Linked DNA regions of Homo sapiens: all the other regions are linked to region 1. The links are contacts of gene promoters, found by promoter capture Hi-C in blood cells and fetal thymus (Javierre and others, 2016). All regions are on one chromosome and are shown on one strand. The core of a region is centred on a gene start or on the middle of the fragment in contact, and the rest is flanking DNA. Distances in the headings are between cores, read along the strand shown.

The links. The method cuts DNA at HindIII sites, captures the fragments that hold promoters and counts their contacts. A CHiCAGO score of 5 or more calls a contact.
Region 2: a fragment that was not itself captured here is called in contact with the fragment with the promoter of SLC43A3 in region 1 in 9 of 17 cell types (M1 macrophages, monocytes, activated CD4 T cells and 6 more); the score reaches 15.0 in M1 macrophages.
Region 3: a fragment that was not itself captured here is called in contact with the fragment with the promoter of SLC43A3 in region 1 in 2 of 17 cell types (neutrophils and monocytes); the score reaches 6.2 in neutrophils.
Region 4: a fragment that was not itself captured here is called in contact with the fragment with the promoter of SLC43A3 in region 1 in 1 of 17 cell types (neutrophils); the score reaches 5.4 in neutrophils.
Region 5: the fragment with the promoter of UBE2L6 here is called in contact with the fragment with the promoter of SLC43A3 in region 1 in 1 of 17 cell types (neutrophils); the score reaches 7.0 in neutrophils.

Annotation. Positions count from the first base shown.
Region 1 is chr11:57,425,704-57,428,629 of GRCh38, forward strand. SLC43A3 (solute carrier family 43 member 3) reads right to left here and starts at 1,418. Exons shown (of 14, transcript NM_199329.3): 1 at 1,359-1,418; 2 at 885-949; 3 at 286-649. The coding sequence starts at 469. RefSeq lists enhancers at 1-142, 1-1,034, 143-935 and a silencer at 1,178-1,537. The HindIII fragment of the contact is 9,438 bases long and covers 1-2,926 here.
Region 2 is chr11:57,659,737-57,662,662 of GRCh38, forward strand. It overlaps CLP1 (cleavage factor polyribonucleotide kinase subunit 1), which reads left to right. Exons shown (of 3, transcript NM_006831.3): 2 at 1-346; 3 at 1,029-2,129. The coding sequence ends at 1,700. Among named protein-coding and RNA genes, the nearest start is that of CLP1, 3.4 kb to the left of the region's middle. The HindIII fragment of the contact is 2,449 bases long and covers 333-2,781 here.
Region 3 is chr11:57,618,461-57,621,386 of GRCh38, forward strand. No RefSeq gene overlaps it. Among named protein-coding and RNA genes, the nearest start is that of MIR130AHG, 18 kb to the right of the region's middle. The HindIII fragment of the contact is 3,483 bases long and covers 1-2,926 here.
Region 4 is chr11:57,588,596-57,591,521 of GRCh38, forward strand. No RefSeq gene overlaps it. Among named protein-coding and RNA genes, the nearest start is that of SERPING1, 7.6 kb to the right of the region's middle. The HindIII fragment of the contact is 5,530 bases long and covers 1-2,926 here.
Region 5 is chr11:57,566,263-57,569,188 of GRCh38, forward strand. UBE2L6 (ubiquitin conjugating enzyme E2 L6) reads right to left here and starts at 1,410. Exons shown (of 4, transcript NM_004223.5): 1 at 1,323-1,410. The coding sequence starts at 1,349. RefSeq lists an enhancer at 1-160 and a silencer at 1,414-1,773. The HindIII fragment of the contact is 19,025 bases long and covers 1-2,926 here.

The DNA.
Region 1 (2,926 bases), core at 168-2,667:
GCCTTCCTGCCAAATGAGCACACAGGCTGGGCTCCCCTCCACCTCAGACAGCTTGTCGGTCGCAAACTTGTCCCTTAAGCTGAGTTGAAATGTGGCTGCCCCTAATTACCCCTCAGGAGCTGGTGCCTCCCTCCCAGGCACTTCCCAGATCAAGTGGGGTGAGAGCTGCTGACCCTTCCTCTCATCATAGAAAGAGGGGTGGGCAGGGGGCAGAGTCCTTCCTGCTCCTTGCCACCACGTGGGAGCCAGACTTAACTTCCTTAGAAAAGTCATCCCTGCCCTTACCAGCCTGCCCTGTGGCATTGCCAATCGGCCCAGCATCTGGTCCACACAGATCCTTAAAGTAATCTTCATTCTTGAAGACAAACACTAGTGAAGGCCAGCCAAAGAGGACGCCAGCAAAGCCCAGGCATTCCAGCAGCCCAGTCAGCAGTGTGGCCACGTGCAGGGGCAGGCCCTGGCCCGCCATGAGCAGAAGTGGAGTGGATCTTCAAATCCCACTTTGTCCTCCTGGACGGATCACAGGCGCCGTAAGCCTGGCGTTTGAGCACTTGGAAAATTCCTCTGGCAAGCCAAGCCCTTCCTTTCCCGTAGCTCTCTGGTTGTTTCAGGCCTGGGCAAAAACCATCAGCGGGTGATTCTCTGGATCCTGTAGAATAAAGATAGAGGCTGCTGGAAGAGGAGGCCTGCGGGAAAGGGAAAGGTAGACTAGAGTTATTTGTGAGGTGCATTAAGAGGCAGGATGATCATGGCCGCTGGCAGCAAATGTGGGGAATAAATACTCCAATACATCATCTTAGGCACTGCATTTGAGTAACCACGTGGCAAGTAGAGAGGCAGGTCTTGATGGCCACCTGGAGTCACAGGTGAGATAAACGACTTACCCAATAGCTCCCCGGGAGCAGGTGGAGAAGCGGAGCTCCTGCGCTCGAATTCTGAATACCGTCCCCTAAAATAATGACAGCAACTCAACCAGGTGCAGAGGCAGGGAGATTTCATACAGAAGACACAAACTCCCGCTGCCAAGTTGGTGTTATCTTCAGTTTACTGACAATGAAACAAAAGCTCCCATGGATTTCAGGAACTTGCCCAAGGTCACAGGGCTAGTTTAGTCACGACGCAGGCCATTCTACTGCCAGAAATACCCCCAACTCCCATGACCCTCGCCTAGGACTCGCAAACCTGGTCCCCGCCGCCCTTCCTCGCATCAACTTCTACCAGGAAAGCCTCCGGGGGCCGCTCCCCGCCAGCCTCCGCACCCCGCTCCAGCCTGCGGCCTGCCCTCCCCGCAGAGGAGCCCGAGGGGCCAGGCCGCGCTCGGCGCCCCATGGCGCCCGAAAGGGGACCCTTCGCCCTACCCGCCTGCTCCGCGCCGGGGCTCTCCGCGCCCTTTCCGCACGGGCCAGGTTCGCATTCGCGCCTCTCGCAGCCCCTCCCAGTCCCCTGCTCGCCTCCGCCCCCTCCTGCCCGCCCGGAAGGGGCTGGGGCAGACCTCCCACTCTCCATCACTTCCTTCTTCTTTTCCCTTGCTCACAGCCTCCCGCGCCCTTTTTACCTCTCCCTCTTGAAACTTCTCCCTCTAGAACCCCCTAGAACCCCAGCGGTGTCTTTCCCTCCCTCCTCGCTGCCTTTCAGCCTCCCAGCCCCCTTGCCTCTGCCTCCCCTAACCAAGTTAGTTGAATGCTGTTACTCGCTCAGGCCCACCTAGGGAAAATGTCACACCCAGCACCCAGAGGACACACAGACAGCACATGAGGGCATAGGGACACACACACTCTATTTGTGCATTTTGCCTTGACCGCTGGGTTGGCAGGGAACATATTTTTCCTATTTGCTCACCAGCTTAACCGTCTCTCCCAGTTTCACACTCCCAGAGCTGCCAAAAAAATCCCAACCACAGAATCAGGAAGCCAAGAACCAGGACTGAGGGCTTTTCAGAAACCATCCCCTGGAGGACTGCCCCATATTTTCACTCCCAAAAACCCCTTAGATGACTCCCTGCCTCACCCCCGCCCCCCAGGTTCTGAAAGAGCCTTCCCGCCAGACTGCATTGATTAACCATTCATTGCCCCATTTTTTATTAATCAAAGACATATATAATTGCTCATCGGAGCTTGTGATCAGCGTGAGGCCTTACTAAGCAGCTGCCTTACTATCCTTCCAGCCCAGAGCACGTGAGCTGACGTCTTCTTTGGCCTGTGTGGCCGTTTCCTTGCCAAAAGCTCAGTTTGGGGAGAGCTTCTTGCGTATTAGATGCAGTCTGCAGACTCCCAACCCCAGCTACCTGGATCCCCTGAGGGCCCAGGAACTCCAGCTATTCCAAGCCCACTCCTCTTTTTTTTAAGAGGAAGAAATAGAGGTTACGATAGGGGACAGCCAGAACTGAGGATTTTCCAGCTCACCACCAAAGCACAAAAGATAAAAGTCTGCAACCACCCTAGTGACTTGACTGAATGGAGGAAGGGTGGCTGGGGTCCTGTACCCCAAGCTACTCACTAGTTATACAACCTGAGGCAAGCTCTTTGGCTGCCCCACCTGTAAGACGAGGACAATAGTACCTTAATTATAGGAATTGTCATAAAAGAAGTATAAGATGGGTGTATGAGGTCCCTGCATGGCGCAGGTGCTATAGGCAGATTGTAGGGTAGTAGATTTTCTAGTCTGCAGTTATGTAGACAGAGCCAGAGAAGCAGCTCTGGGGAGGAATTTCAAAGGAACTTGCCCACGGTCATTCTACAAAGCTGCAGTACCTTCCCAACTCTGAAACGTATGCTCTCATCACCCCGTCTTAACAAACATTTGGACATTAGAGAAAACAAGTCTTTTCTTAAAATAACATTATTTATGGGAGAAAATCCACAAAAATATAGCATCCCAGGACAAACAGGGCTTAAGATGCAAGATTTTCTATTTTACTGCAAGACAC
Region 2 (2,926 bases), core at 307-2,806, 230 kb after region 1:
CACTCCTATGTTGCTTTACCTCAACACTCACACAGCCTTGGAACAGATGCGGAGGCAAGCGGAAAAGGAAGAAGAGCGAGGTCCCCGAGTGATGGTAGTGGGCCCCACTGATGTGGGCAAGTCTACAGTGTGTCGCCTTCTGCTCAACTACGCAGTGCGTTTGGGCCGCCGTCCCACTTATGTGGAGCTGGATGTGGGCCAGGGTTCTGTGTCCATCCCTGGTACCATGGGGGCCCTCTACATCGAGCGGCCTGCAGATGTCGAAGAGGGTTTCTCTATCCAGGCCCCTCTGGTGTATCATTTTGGTTCCACCACTCCTGGCACTAACATCAAGCTTTATAATAAGGTCAGAGCCAGAGAAAGGTGGGGTGGAGGGAAGGGCTGCTATCAGGGTAGGAAACTGGAGAAGTTTACTAGTTAACACTGCATTTTCTCAGCTGGTATTTCTGCTGCATTACTTTAGAAAGGCAATTCCAAATATGTCAGTCTCAGATTGTTAAACATTTCTGTGGATCTATTCTTAGTAATTTGTTAGATTTTCACTTAGGGCATAAAACAGGAGGCAGAAGCAGCAACATAAAAATTAAATCCATGTTATGGTATCAAAACTACAGCCATTAAAAATGTCATTTTTTCAGGCTGGGTACAGTGGCTCATGCCTGTAATCCCACAACTTGGGAGGCTGAGACGGGTGGATCACCTGAGGTCAGGAGTTGGAGAGCAGCCTGGCCAACATGGTGAAACCTTGTCTCTACTAAAAATACAAAAAGTAGCTGGGCGTGGTGGCTGGTGCCTGTAATCCCAGCTGTTCAGAGACTGAGGCAGGAGAATCACTTGAACGCGGGAGGTGGAGGTTGCAGTGAGCTGAGATCGTGCCACTGCACTCCATCCTGGGCAACAGAGTGAGACTCCATTTCAAAAAAAAAATCATTTTTCTTATATCTAATAGCACTTATTCTAAAGAGGAACAAAGTAGCCATGGGTTTGTCTGGGTGTTTTTGTTCTTACCTTGATCCTCTCTTTTGCAGATTACATCTCGTTTAGCAGATGTGTTCAACCAAAGGTGTGAGGTGAACCGAAGGGCATCTGTGAGTGGCTGTGTCATTAACACCTGTGGCTGGGTCAAGGGCTCTGGTTACCAGGCTCTGGTGCATGCAGCCTCAGCTTTTGAGGTGGATGTCGTTGTTGTTCTGGATCAAGAACGACTGTACAATGAACTGAAACGGGACCTCCCCCACTTTGTACGCACTGTGCTGCTCCCTAAATCTGGGGGTGTGGTGGAGCGCTCCAAGGACTTCCGGCGGGAATGTAGGGATGAGCGTATCCGTGAGTATTTTTATGGATTCCGAGGCTGTTTCTATCCCCATGCCTTCAATGTCAAATTTTCAGATGTGAAAATCTACAAAGTTGGGGCACCCACCATCCCAGACTCCTGTTTACCTTTGGGCATGTCTCAAGAGGATAATCAGCTCAAGCTAGTACCTGTCACTCCTGGGCGAGATATGGTGCACCACCTACTGAGTGTTAGCACTGCCGAGGGTACAGAGGAGAACCTGTCCGAGACAAGTGTAGCTGGCTTCATTGTGGTGACCAGTGTGGACCTGGAGCATCAGGTGTTTACTGTTCTGTCTCCAGCCCCTCGCCCACTGCCTAAGAACTTCCTTCTCATCATGGATATCCGGTTCATGGATCTGAAGTAGAGATCAGCAGGAAGCCTTGCTGCCTGGGACATAGAGATCATCTGGCCACCCCTAGAGGCAGATGGGCTGAGATAAAAGACTGTTGGGGCCACCTGACCAGTAAACTGTGGACTAGTAGAAAGTTCATATTCTACCTCTAAAAACAGGTAGTGGTAACCTGACTCTTCTAATCTTGAACCAAAAGGAAAACCATGAGACTGTAATTGGTTTCTTAGACCACCTAAGATGCCACTTTGAATTCTCTAAGACCCTGGAGAATTGCATTTCTTTCACTGTGCTACTATGTGGTTTTTAAAAAATCAATGCTTTATATTCCATATGTGGTTCTTACCCATTTATCTAGGATGAAAGTGTGAATTAGAGGGACTCCTTCCAATAAAGTTCAAACTTAAAAAAAATCATTTTAATAAATATTTTTGCCATATCATAGAAGTTGGTATAATTTATTTTTTTCCCCTAAGCGTTATAGAAACATAATTGGAATGATTTATTGCTAAAATGCTTGGAGGAGGGGAAAACCAAGAAACCTACCTGTGAGCCACGTCAGGTTTTTTTTTTTGGTGGTGGTGGTGGTTGTTTTTGTAAGAGTCTCACACTGTCACCTGGGCTGGAGTGCAGTGGCGTGATCTTGGCTCACTGCAACCTCTGCCTCCCAGGTTCAAGTGATTCTCCTGCCTCAGCCTCCCAAATAGCTGGGGTTACAGGTGCCCGCCACCACGCCCAGCTAATTTTTTGTATTTCTTTTAGTAGGGACAGGGTTTCACTATGTTGGCCAGGCTGGTCTCAAACTCCTGACCTCATGATCTGCCTGCCTCGGCCTCCCAAAATGCTGGGATTACAGGTGTGAGACACTGTGCCCGGCTGTGAGTTCTTATGATAGTTCACCTTTCCTCTGCGCTTAGGTAAGTAGATGGTAAATCTGCTGTCAGTGCTGGATTTACTGTGGGGAGTTAGAGGCTGGTGATAATCTTGGAATGAGATTTCATATCTAATCATTTTCCAGAGATAGCTCATTTTCCTTCCAGTACAGCTATCCTTGTCTATTTGATTGGAACTAGGCCCTAAGTCAAAGTGTAACTTAAGCTTTCAGGTGGTAAGAAACTGGGAAAGCCCATTCTTTTTGATCTCTTGCAAATGACTGTTTGGTGTCCCTGGTTTGCACTTGGATTACTTAAGTATCTGATGCCATTCATCCATTCCTTCTTTTCATAAATGTTTACTGAGGA
Region 3 (2,926 bases), core at 111-2,610, 190 kb after region 1:
GCCTGAACATTTATTTTGCTAATGAGTCATTGACCCAGTGTGGGCTTGGCAAATCTAGGGTAGCCTCAGTTATGTACCTGCTACAGTCAGCTGGGGGTTAGCTGAAGGTTTGTTGAGGTTTGATTTCACTGAGCTTGCATAGGCTCTTTCACATGTTTTAGACTTTGGCTGGGATCAACCAGATGACCAATTCTGATCCAAGTGATCTCTGGTCTTCCAGGAAGCTAGTCTGGCTTATTCATACGAAGTTTGCAAAAGTCCAAGAAAGCAAGCAGAGGCATGCATGCAAGGCCTCTTGAATCCGAAGCTAGGAACTACTAGAACATCACTTCTGCCTCATTCTAGCAGCCAAAGCAAGTCACCAGACCAGTTTAGATTCAAGGTAAGGAAAGAATCTCTACCTGTTAAAGAAAAGACCTGCAAAGTCATTCTGCTAAGGGCATTAATATAACGAAATGTGAATAATTCTGGCCACTTTTCCAGTATACCATATGTGGTCTTACATAGTTGCAAACAACTATTAGCAACTTTCCCCAGCAACCTGCCACTCTGTTTTTCCCTAAAGAATCAAGGGCTTTTGTCGAGATCATAATAATATTAGAAACACTTTGTTACATGAAGTTTCAAGTCGTTTGCATATAAATTGAATCTTCTGTTGCTATCTCTGTGGCATATTTAACAATCTCTGGCTCTTCCAGCTGCCTGTGTTGTAGAATAAATTATTATAAATACAGAGCTGCCTGAGTATTTATAATAATAAATAAATAAATTATCTTCATTTCCATTTCCCTTGAGAAAGATGGACAGAGGGCTATGCACTCATAGACACACACACACACACACACACACACACACACCCTTACAACCCCCACCTTTCTGCCCTGCCTTGCAATTCTACTCTGGGGTAGACAAAGGCCTGTATGTCCACAGATCCATTTTCAGTGATCTGTTTCCTGTCCCCAACTGTAGACCCCTCCACACGTGGATTTGTCTGGGGAAGAACCTTAAGGTGAGATTAGGGTTCCATTGCAATGAGTCTTTGCTGCCACTTGGTGTCATTGTTGAAGGCTTGTCCTGCATAGCCCCATGGACACTTGCCTTTTCAGGGAGATGTTTTTGCTGTTCCAGATTCTTTTTTTTTTTTTTTTTTGAGACAGAATCTCTCTCTGTTGCCCAGACTGGAGTGCAATGGTGCGATCTTGGCTCACTGCAACCTCTGTTTCCCAGGTTGAAGGGATTCTCCTGCCTCAGCTTCCTGAGTAGCAGGAATTATAGGCACCCACCATGTGTCCAGCTAATTTTTGTATTTTTAGTAGAGATGGGGTTTTACCATGTTGGCCAGGCTGGTCTCAAACTCCTGACCTCAAGTGATCCACCCATCTTGGCCTCCCAAAGTGTTAGAATTACAGGTGTGAGTCACTGTGCCTGGCCGGTTCCAGATTCTTAAACAGCTGATGTGGGGACTTAAACTTTGATTCCAAAGTTTACACTTTACACTTGTTCAGCCACTGTTTCTCAAAGATCAATACCTTTAGTTCTCTCTGGATAGCAGAAGGCTTCCAACATGAGCCATAGGCTATGTCAGAATCAGCCTCATCCCTATGAACCCTTAGGACATTGTCTTGACTCATGGTTGATAACCACATTAGCCATGTATCTACCTAACATGCATTAACCATTTGCCATGCTGTCAGGCACTGTGTTAAGAATTTTACATGGATTATGTTATTTCATTTAAGAGAGATCATGACTTAAGAAAAGGATATGTTACTGAATATATTAGATAATTCAAAATTTAGATAATTTGATACTAAGTTTTCCAGAATAATAACTGTAAAAGGTAGGGAGAGAATCTTCAACCATTGTAGAATTTCTTGTCTTCAAACTATTGTTTATTTTCTAAATACAAAAATCTCTAATATTTCTCAGAGTAGGCACTCTTAAATTAACTGCTTGGCATATCAGGACAGCTATTTGGGCTTTTTCATAGTGTCTTATCATATCTAACTTTCATTACAAAGTTATTGATTTTGGAGGGTGTTTTTAGCACTAGTGCCATGACTTAATGAATGAACTCTGAGATGACATCATTGTAGAATACAGGAAATATTTTAAATGATAAAGCTGAATGTTAAAATAACAGCACCTTAGTCACAAATGTCACTGTCAGAATTTATGATGCACATAAACAATAGCTGATTCACACAATTATGAGCAGTGATGGCAGTTATTTACTTTCACCAGCTCAAGTGCCACTATCATGTACCAATAGTTATGAGTATAGTTTACAATCCACTCAGCCCACCAATTTTGAAATTATGCAACCCTTGATGATTTTTTTTAATTTAGGGAGATTTTCAATTTTTCAAGTTTGTATAATTCAAATTTATATAATATACAGTAGTACCACCTCATTATTATCCTCTTTTATAGATGAAAAATGAAACCTTACAGTGCAATTGATCTACTCATTCAAGATCTCAGAAGTCCAGAAGTGGTGGCTTATGCTTGTAATCTTAGCACTTTGGGATGCCAAGGTGGGTGGATCACTTGAGGTCAGGAGTTCGAGACCAGCCTGGCCAACATGATGAAACCACATCTCTACCAAAAATTAGTCGGGGGTGGTGGTGGGCATTTGTAATCCCAGCTACTCCGGAGGCTGAGGCAAGAGAATCACTTAAATCTGGGAGGCAGAGGTTGCAGTGAACTGAGATCATGCCACTACACTCCAGCCTGGGCGATGCAGTGAGACTCCGTCTCAAAAAAAAAGATCTCAGAGATGGTAAAGAGTGGAAGCAGGAATAGACCCCAGTATCTGACTCTAGAACTTGTGCTCAGTAACCAAGTTTTCATTTCTCAAAATGTAATTTCATGTTAGAGAACTCAGTGATATTCCTTGTCCTGAGCTTTTGTTGAAATTATACCA
Region 4 (2,926 bases), core at 137-2,636, 160 kb after region 1:
ATAAGTGACTTCTTATAAGAGTGGTCTCCTGGCTGGGTGCGGTAGCTCGCCTGTAATCCCAGCAGTTTGGGAGGCTGAGGTGAGTGGATCACCTGAAGTCAGGAGTGTGAGACCAGCCTGGCCAACCCCGTCTCAACTAAAAAATAAAAATAAAAAATAAAAAATTATCCTGGCATGGTGGTGGGCACCTGTAATCCCAGCTACTTGGGAGGCTGAGGCATGAGAATCGCTTGAACCCAGGAGGCAGAAGTTGCAGTGAGCTGAGATTGTGCCACCGCACTCCAGCCTGGGCAATTGAGCGAGACCCTGTCTCAAAAAAAAAAAAAAAAAGGTCTCCCATGGAAAACCAATTTATATTGATTATCATGTATTATATTATATTATATTAGTTATTATCATTCTGTCTGTGGATTGAAGAATATCTGGAAAGGACAGAGTGGAAGCATGGAAACCAGGCAGGAGGCTATTCAGTGGCCCAGGTGAGAGATGGTTGTGGCTAGATTGGGTTCATGGCCTCAATGATTGAGAGAACTGAGTGGATTCAGGATACATTTTGAAGATACTACCAAAAGGTCTGATGATGGGCTGGATGTAGGGAAAGATCAAGCTCCTCTAATCCCTCTGGGTGAGAGGCTATTTCAACTTCTACCACCTCCTATAGTGACCTGAGGTGGAGATAAAGGGCTCAAATTAGGACCCAAGATTAAAGACCTAAACCCAATCAAGTTCAAGGAACCTGGAACTGAAAAGTAAATACAAAATCTAAGACTTTTAGGCCAGTGATAAAACTAGGCCTTGTTACATAAAGGAGAGAGAAAATGAGGCCCAGAAATTATTGTTTCTTTTTTCGAGACAGAGTCTTGCTCTGTTGCCCAGGCTGGAGTGCAGTGGCATGATCTCAGCTCACTGCAACCTCTGCCTCCCAGGTTCAAGCAATTCTCCTTCCTCAGCCTCCTGAGTAGCTGGGATTACAGGCACACACCACCATGTCTGGCTAATTTTTGTATTTTTAGTAGAAACAGGGTTTCACCATGTTGGCCAGGCTAGTCTCAAACTCCTGACCTCGTGATCTGCCTGCCTCAGCCTCCCAAAGGTCTGGGATTACAGGCATGAGCCACCGTGCCCTGCCACAAAAATGATTTTTTAATGACATAGATTGAACTAAAACATGCACTGTGTTCAATAGCAGAAAAAAAAAATCAAGATCCTGGAAATAAACAGAAATAGGTGGAATACGTCTTCAGAGCAAACTATATAACTGTATTAGTCTGTTTTCACACTGCTATAAAGAACTGCTCAAGACTGGGTAATTTCGAAAGGAAAGAGGTTTAGTTGACTCACAGTTGTGCATGGCTGGGGAGGCCTCAGGAGACTTACAATCATGGCAGAAGGTGAAGGGGAAGCAAGAAACCCTCTTCACAAGGTGGCAGGAAGAAGTGCTGAGCAAAGAGGGAAGAGCCCCTTATAAAACCATCAGATCTCGTGAGAACTCACTCACTATCAAGAGAACAGCATGTGGGAAACTGCCCCCATGATTCAATTGCTTCCACTTGGTCTCTCCTTTGACACATGGGGTTTATGAGGATTACAATTCAAGATGAGATTTGGGTGGGGACACAAAGCCTAAACATATCAACAAGTATATTGAGAAACAGGCCAGGCGTGGTGGCTCCCACCTGTAATCCCAGCAGAGAAACATTAAGGAAGAGCCAAATAGTTGGAAAGCTATAACATGTTCATGGATTAGAAGACTTACTGTTATAAAGATGTCAATTCACTCCCAAAATGATCTATAGATGTAAGGTAATACCAGTCAAAATCCCAACATATTTTTCCCTTTTATTTTGTGGAGCCTGGTAAGCTGATTCTAAGTATATATGGAAATTCAGGGATCAAGAATAGCAGAGATCTTCTTGAAGAAGAATAAAATGTGAGGACTTGGTCTACTGAATATCAGAACTTAAACATGGTGCCGTCACAATTTTTTGTTGTTGTTGTTTTTGAGACAGAGTTTTGCTCTTGTTGCCCAGGCTCAACCTCTACCTCCCTGGTTCAAGTAATTCTCCCGCCTCAGCCTCTCAAGTAGCTGGGATTACAGGCATGCACCACCACACCCAGCTAATTTTGTATTTTTAGTAGAGACAGGGTTTCTATCTCTGCTAACACGTGAAACCCCATCTCTACTAAATATACAAAAAAAAAAAAAAATTAGCTGGGCGTGGTGGCAGACACCTGTAGTCCCAGCTACTTGTGAGGCTGAGGCAGGAGAATGGCGTGAACCTGGGAGGCGGAGCTTGCAGTGAGCCGAGATCATGCCACTGCACTCCAGCCTGGGCAACAGAGCAAGACTCTGTCTCCAAAAAAAAGAAAAGAAAAGAAAAGAAAAGTCTGTAACTGGAGAAGTGACCATGGGGCTTCATGTTCAAGTTGGGCAGAACAAGGAGGGTGGCTCCCTGTTTCTCAACAGGCATTGAGGAACGCAAGGTGAATTTTGGCTTTTCTGGAAGTGGAGCAGGCATTTTTACCCTCAGGAGAGGTGCATGGAAGCAGAAACAGCAGGTCAAAGCAAGGGGCCACAATCTGAATGGAGCCAAATTCACAGCTGAGTCAACAGTCCAAACCTAGCGCTTCCATCTACAGAGCTGGCAACGGAGAATTGGAAACAAAGGCTAGAAATAGAAAGGTAGCAGAGAAAGCAGGTACGCTGCTGTGCAAGAAGTGGAAAAGATAGTAAGTGAGAGGGAAACTTCTGGAACCGGCATGTAGTTAAGGGGATTGGTTTGGGAATCAATCCAAATGTCTCTCTCAGGGTGAGATCAAAGAAATAGTTTGTAATACATCCATACAATGGAATACCGTGCGGCTGTAAGAAAGAATGAGATAGAGCTGCCTGCAGTGACATGGAACAATGCCCATGCTACTTTAT
Region 5 (2,926 bases), core at 160-2,659, 140 kb after region 1:
AACACACAGTTCTTTCCTACTGCCTACTAGGAAATCACCTGACTCAGAGGAACAGAAAATGAAAGTAGAAAGGCCATTAAGAGAGCCTGCAGGCTGGAGGCCTGTGGACCTGGTTTCATATTCCAGTCCCATTGCTCCTTACTGAAAGACTCTGGACAAGCAAGTTATTTCCTCTGTGCCTCAATTTCCTCATTTGTAAAATGCGGGTATATATTACTTATCTCACAGAACTGCTGTGCGAATTAGATGAAATAACCATGTAAACCGTTTGGCATGTAATGGTTCCAATGCAATAAATTCTGGCTCCCATCTCTCTTCCACTTGGCTGGAAAGACCCTCTGCCTCATTTTGCTGCCAACCTCCAGATTTAGTATCTAGGCCAAGCCTGCTCTGGGCATCCCAGTCTGAGGCCATTTTCTTCTCAGAGGCTGAGGGTAGCAGGCACCCTCTTCCTAGAGCCTGCCCCTCCACCCTGCAGACTGGAAGGGGCACTTCTGAAAGACTTGGGGTGCCAGACTCACTTCACCAGGATCACCTTCCTCCCTAATCCATCTCCAAACACCCTGGGTTTTCCCACCTTCTGGAGGAAACTGCCCCCTCCCCATCCTTCCAGATCTTATTTCAAATTGTGTCCCTGATAGGAACAAAATTCAACAAGGGCCGGATTTGTGTTCATCTCTGCCCGCCCCCCCCCCCCTCCTAGAACAGGGCCAGCACATGTAGGCATTCAACACTTGTAGAACTCACGAACGCAAGCCACCTACTCCAGGAGGCCTTCCAGGTCCACCTCCGCATCTTTTCCTCCAGAGAATACTCAGGGAACTTTGTCCCAAATTCTAATCAGCATTCCGTGTTTCTCAGGACTCTAGTAATACAGGCATCAAATTATGGGATGGGCTATGGGCTTATTCCAAGGCAAGGACTTCATCCTGGTCATCTGTGTTCATAACCCACCACCAGCAGTAGCAGAATGCCTGGCACCAAGATGCCAAGGACTTTTCCTGCACTGGAGATGCACCCAGTTGTTATCACAAGTTTCAGGCAGGAAAAGCGAAATTGAAACCAGTTTTGGGGGAGCCGGCTCATCTTCACCACGCGAACGGCTCAAGCAGAGGCCTCCAAACCCCCAAAACCCCAGCTCTGGCCACTCTTGCAGGCCAGTCCTCCTCTGAGTAGAGGGCGGGGAGGACAGGGATTCAGCCAGCCCTGGTGCCCAGACAAATAAATAAATGTGCTCGGAGAGCCGCGGAGGGGATGGAGGGAGGAGGGAATGCGGGAGGCGAGGGGAGCCAAGAGAAAGGGGTCATCCTATACGCGGTTACCTTCACCACTCGCATGCTCGCCATCATGTCGGGACCGAGTGTGTGGCACCCGTGGCCTCCAGCAGGACCGAGCTCCGACCCGCGACACAGCGCGCCCCGCCCCGCCCCGGGGACCCCACCCCCGGCAGCCCCGCCCACCCCTCCTCCAGCCGTCGCTGCGTGGGCCTCCCCGCACCCGCTCCGGCGAGGCCAGGAGGCCGTCGAAGGACGACCCGCCGGACAACCGCCCGATCCCCGCGCGGAAGGCTCGGACCCGGGACTCACGGTCTTTGTGCGGAGACGGGGGCGGGCCTCGGGGCGCACGGCTTTGCTGATCCCTGCCTCCCGCGGGGTGCGCCGTGCACCGGCGGCGAGCGCTCAGGGGCGCTGGGGGGCGCTCATACGGGTTCCAGTCTTCGCTCCGCCGGCGGCCGCACCGGGAGCTCTCCGGTCTTTGTCAGCCCCCTGCACGCCGCCCCAAATACACACTCGCCCTGAATAAATAAGGGATGCTCGCTGTACAGACGCAGCTCCGTGACAGTTCTCAGCGGCCTCCACTATCGGACTGCCGCCTTGAGCCCCTGCCCCAGCAAGCTGCCGGAGCCGCCGAGCCTGCCGCCTTCCCTCCATGGGCCCAGCGCTCCATCTCCGAAACTGCGTGGGGGATGGCGTAGACCTGTGCCCTCCGAGCACCGCTCCCCGGCAGTCGGGGATCCTTTGTGCTGCCCGGCGTTCGGCGCGGGCTGCAACGTTTCTCCCCGTGGCTTGGGGCAGAGCACCGCAAGGAGGCGCTGTTGGACCCTTTCTCTTTTGCTTTGGGGGTTCGGTCTACCATCATTCAGTCCTTTACTAGGTTTAGTATTTACTAAGTGCCTACTGTATGCTGGTTTGGGAAACAGTTGGTGGGGGAAGCCCCAAGAAGGACTCAGGAGCCTCCTTTCCAAGAGAGAGTCTGCTTCCCCTCCCTTACTTTACTACTGGTCCATTACAAGCTGTGGGCCTAATGTGTGCCCCCATGCACAGCTGGAGTCCCCAACCCTCTGTGCAAGGACAGAGTACTTGCAGCCCCTGAGCACCAAGCAGCATCTGGGGAAGATGAGACTTGTTGGGAGGGCCGATCCCCTCCTTCTCACCCTTCCCTACCCCCGTTTAGTCCAGACGAGAAAGGAAATCAGTATATTTTGAGCACCAGTTTGTGATCTCAGTACCTCACAGTTTTTTTGTTTCTTGTTTTTCTGACAGAGTTTCACTGTCGCCCTGACTGGAGTTCAGTGGCGATATCGGCTCACTGCAACCTCCGCCTCCCGGTTCAAGCTGTTCTCGTGCCTCAGCCTCCTGAGTAGCTGAGATTTACAGGCGCGCGCCACCACGACCGGCTCATTTTTGTATTTTTAGTAGAGTCAGGGTCTCGAGCTCCTGGTTTCAAGTAATCCACCCGCCTCGGCCTCCCAAAGTGTTGGAATTACAGGCGTGAGCCACCGTAATGTTTTTATCCAAGTATTTTGAAACCAAATGACTTCTCTGCTCAGATTTTGCAGAACGATTAATTGTTTCATTCAATTCAATGAACTTTAACAGCATTTTCTATATGCCCGAAATGAATAGGACACTCCGTAATCCCTTAA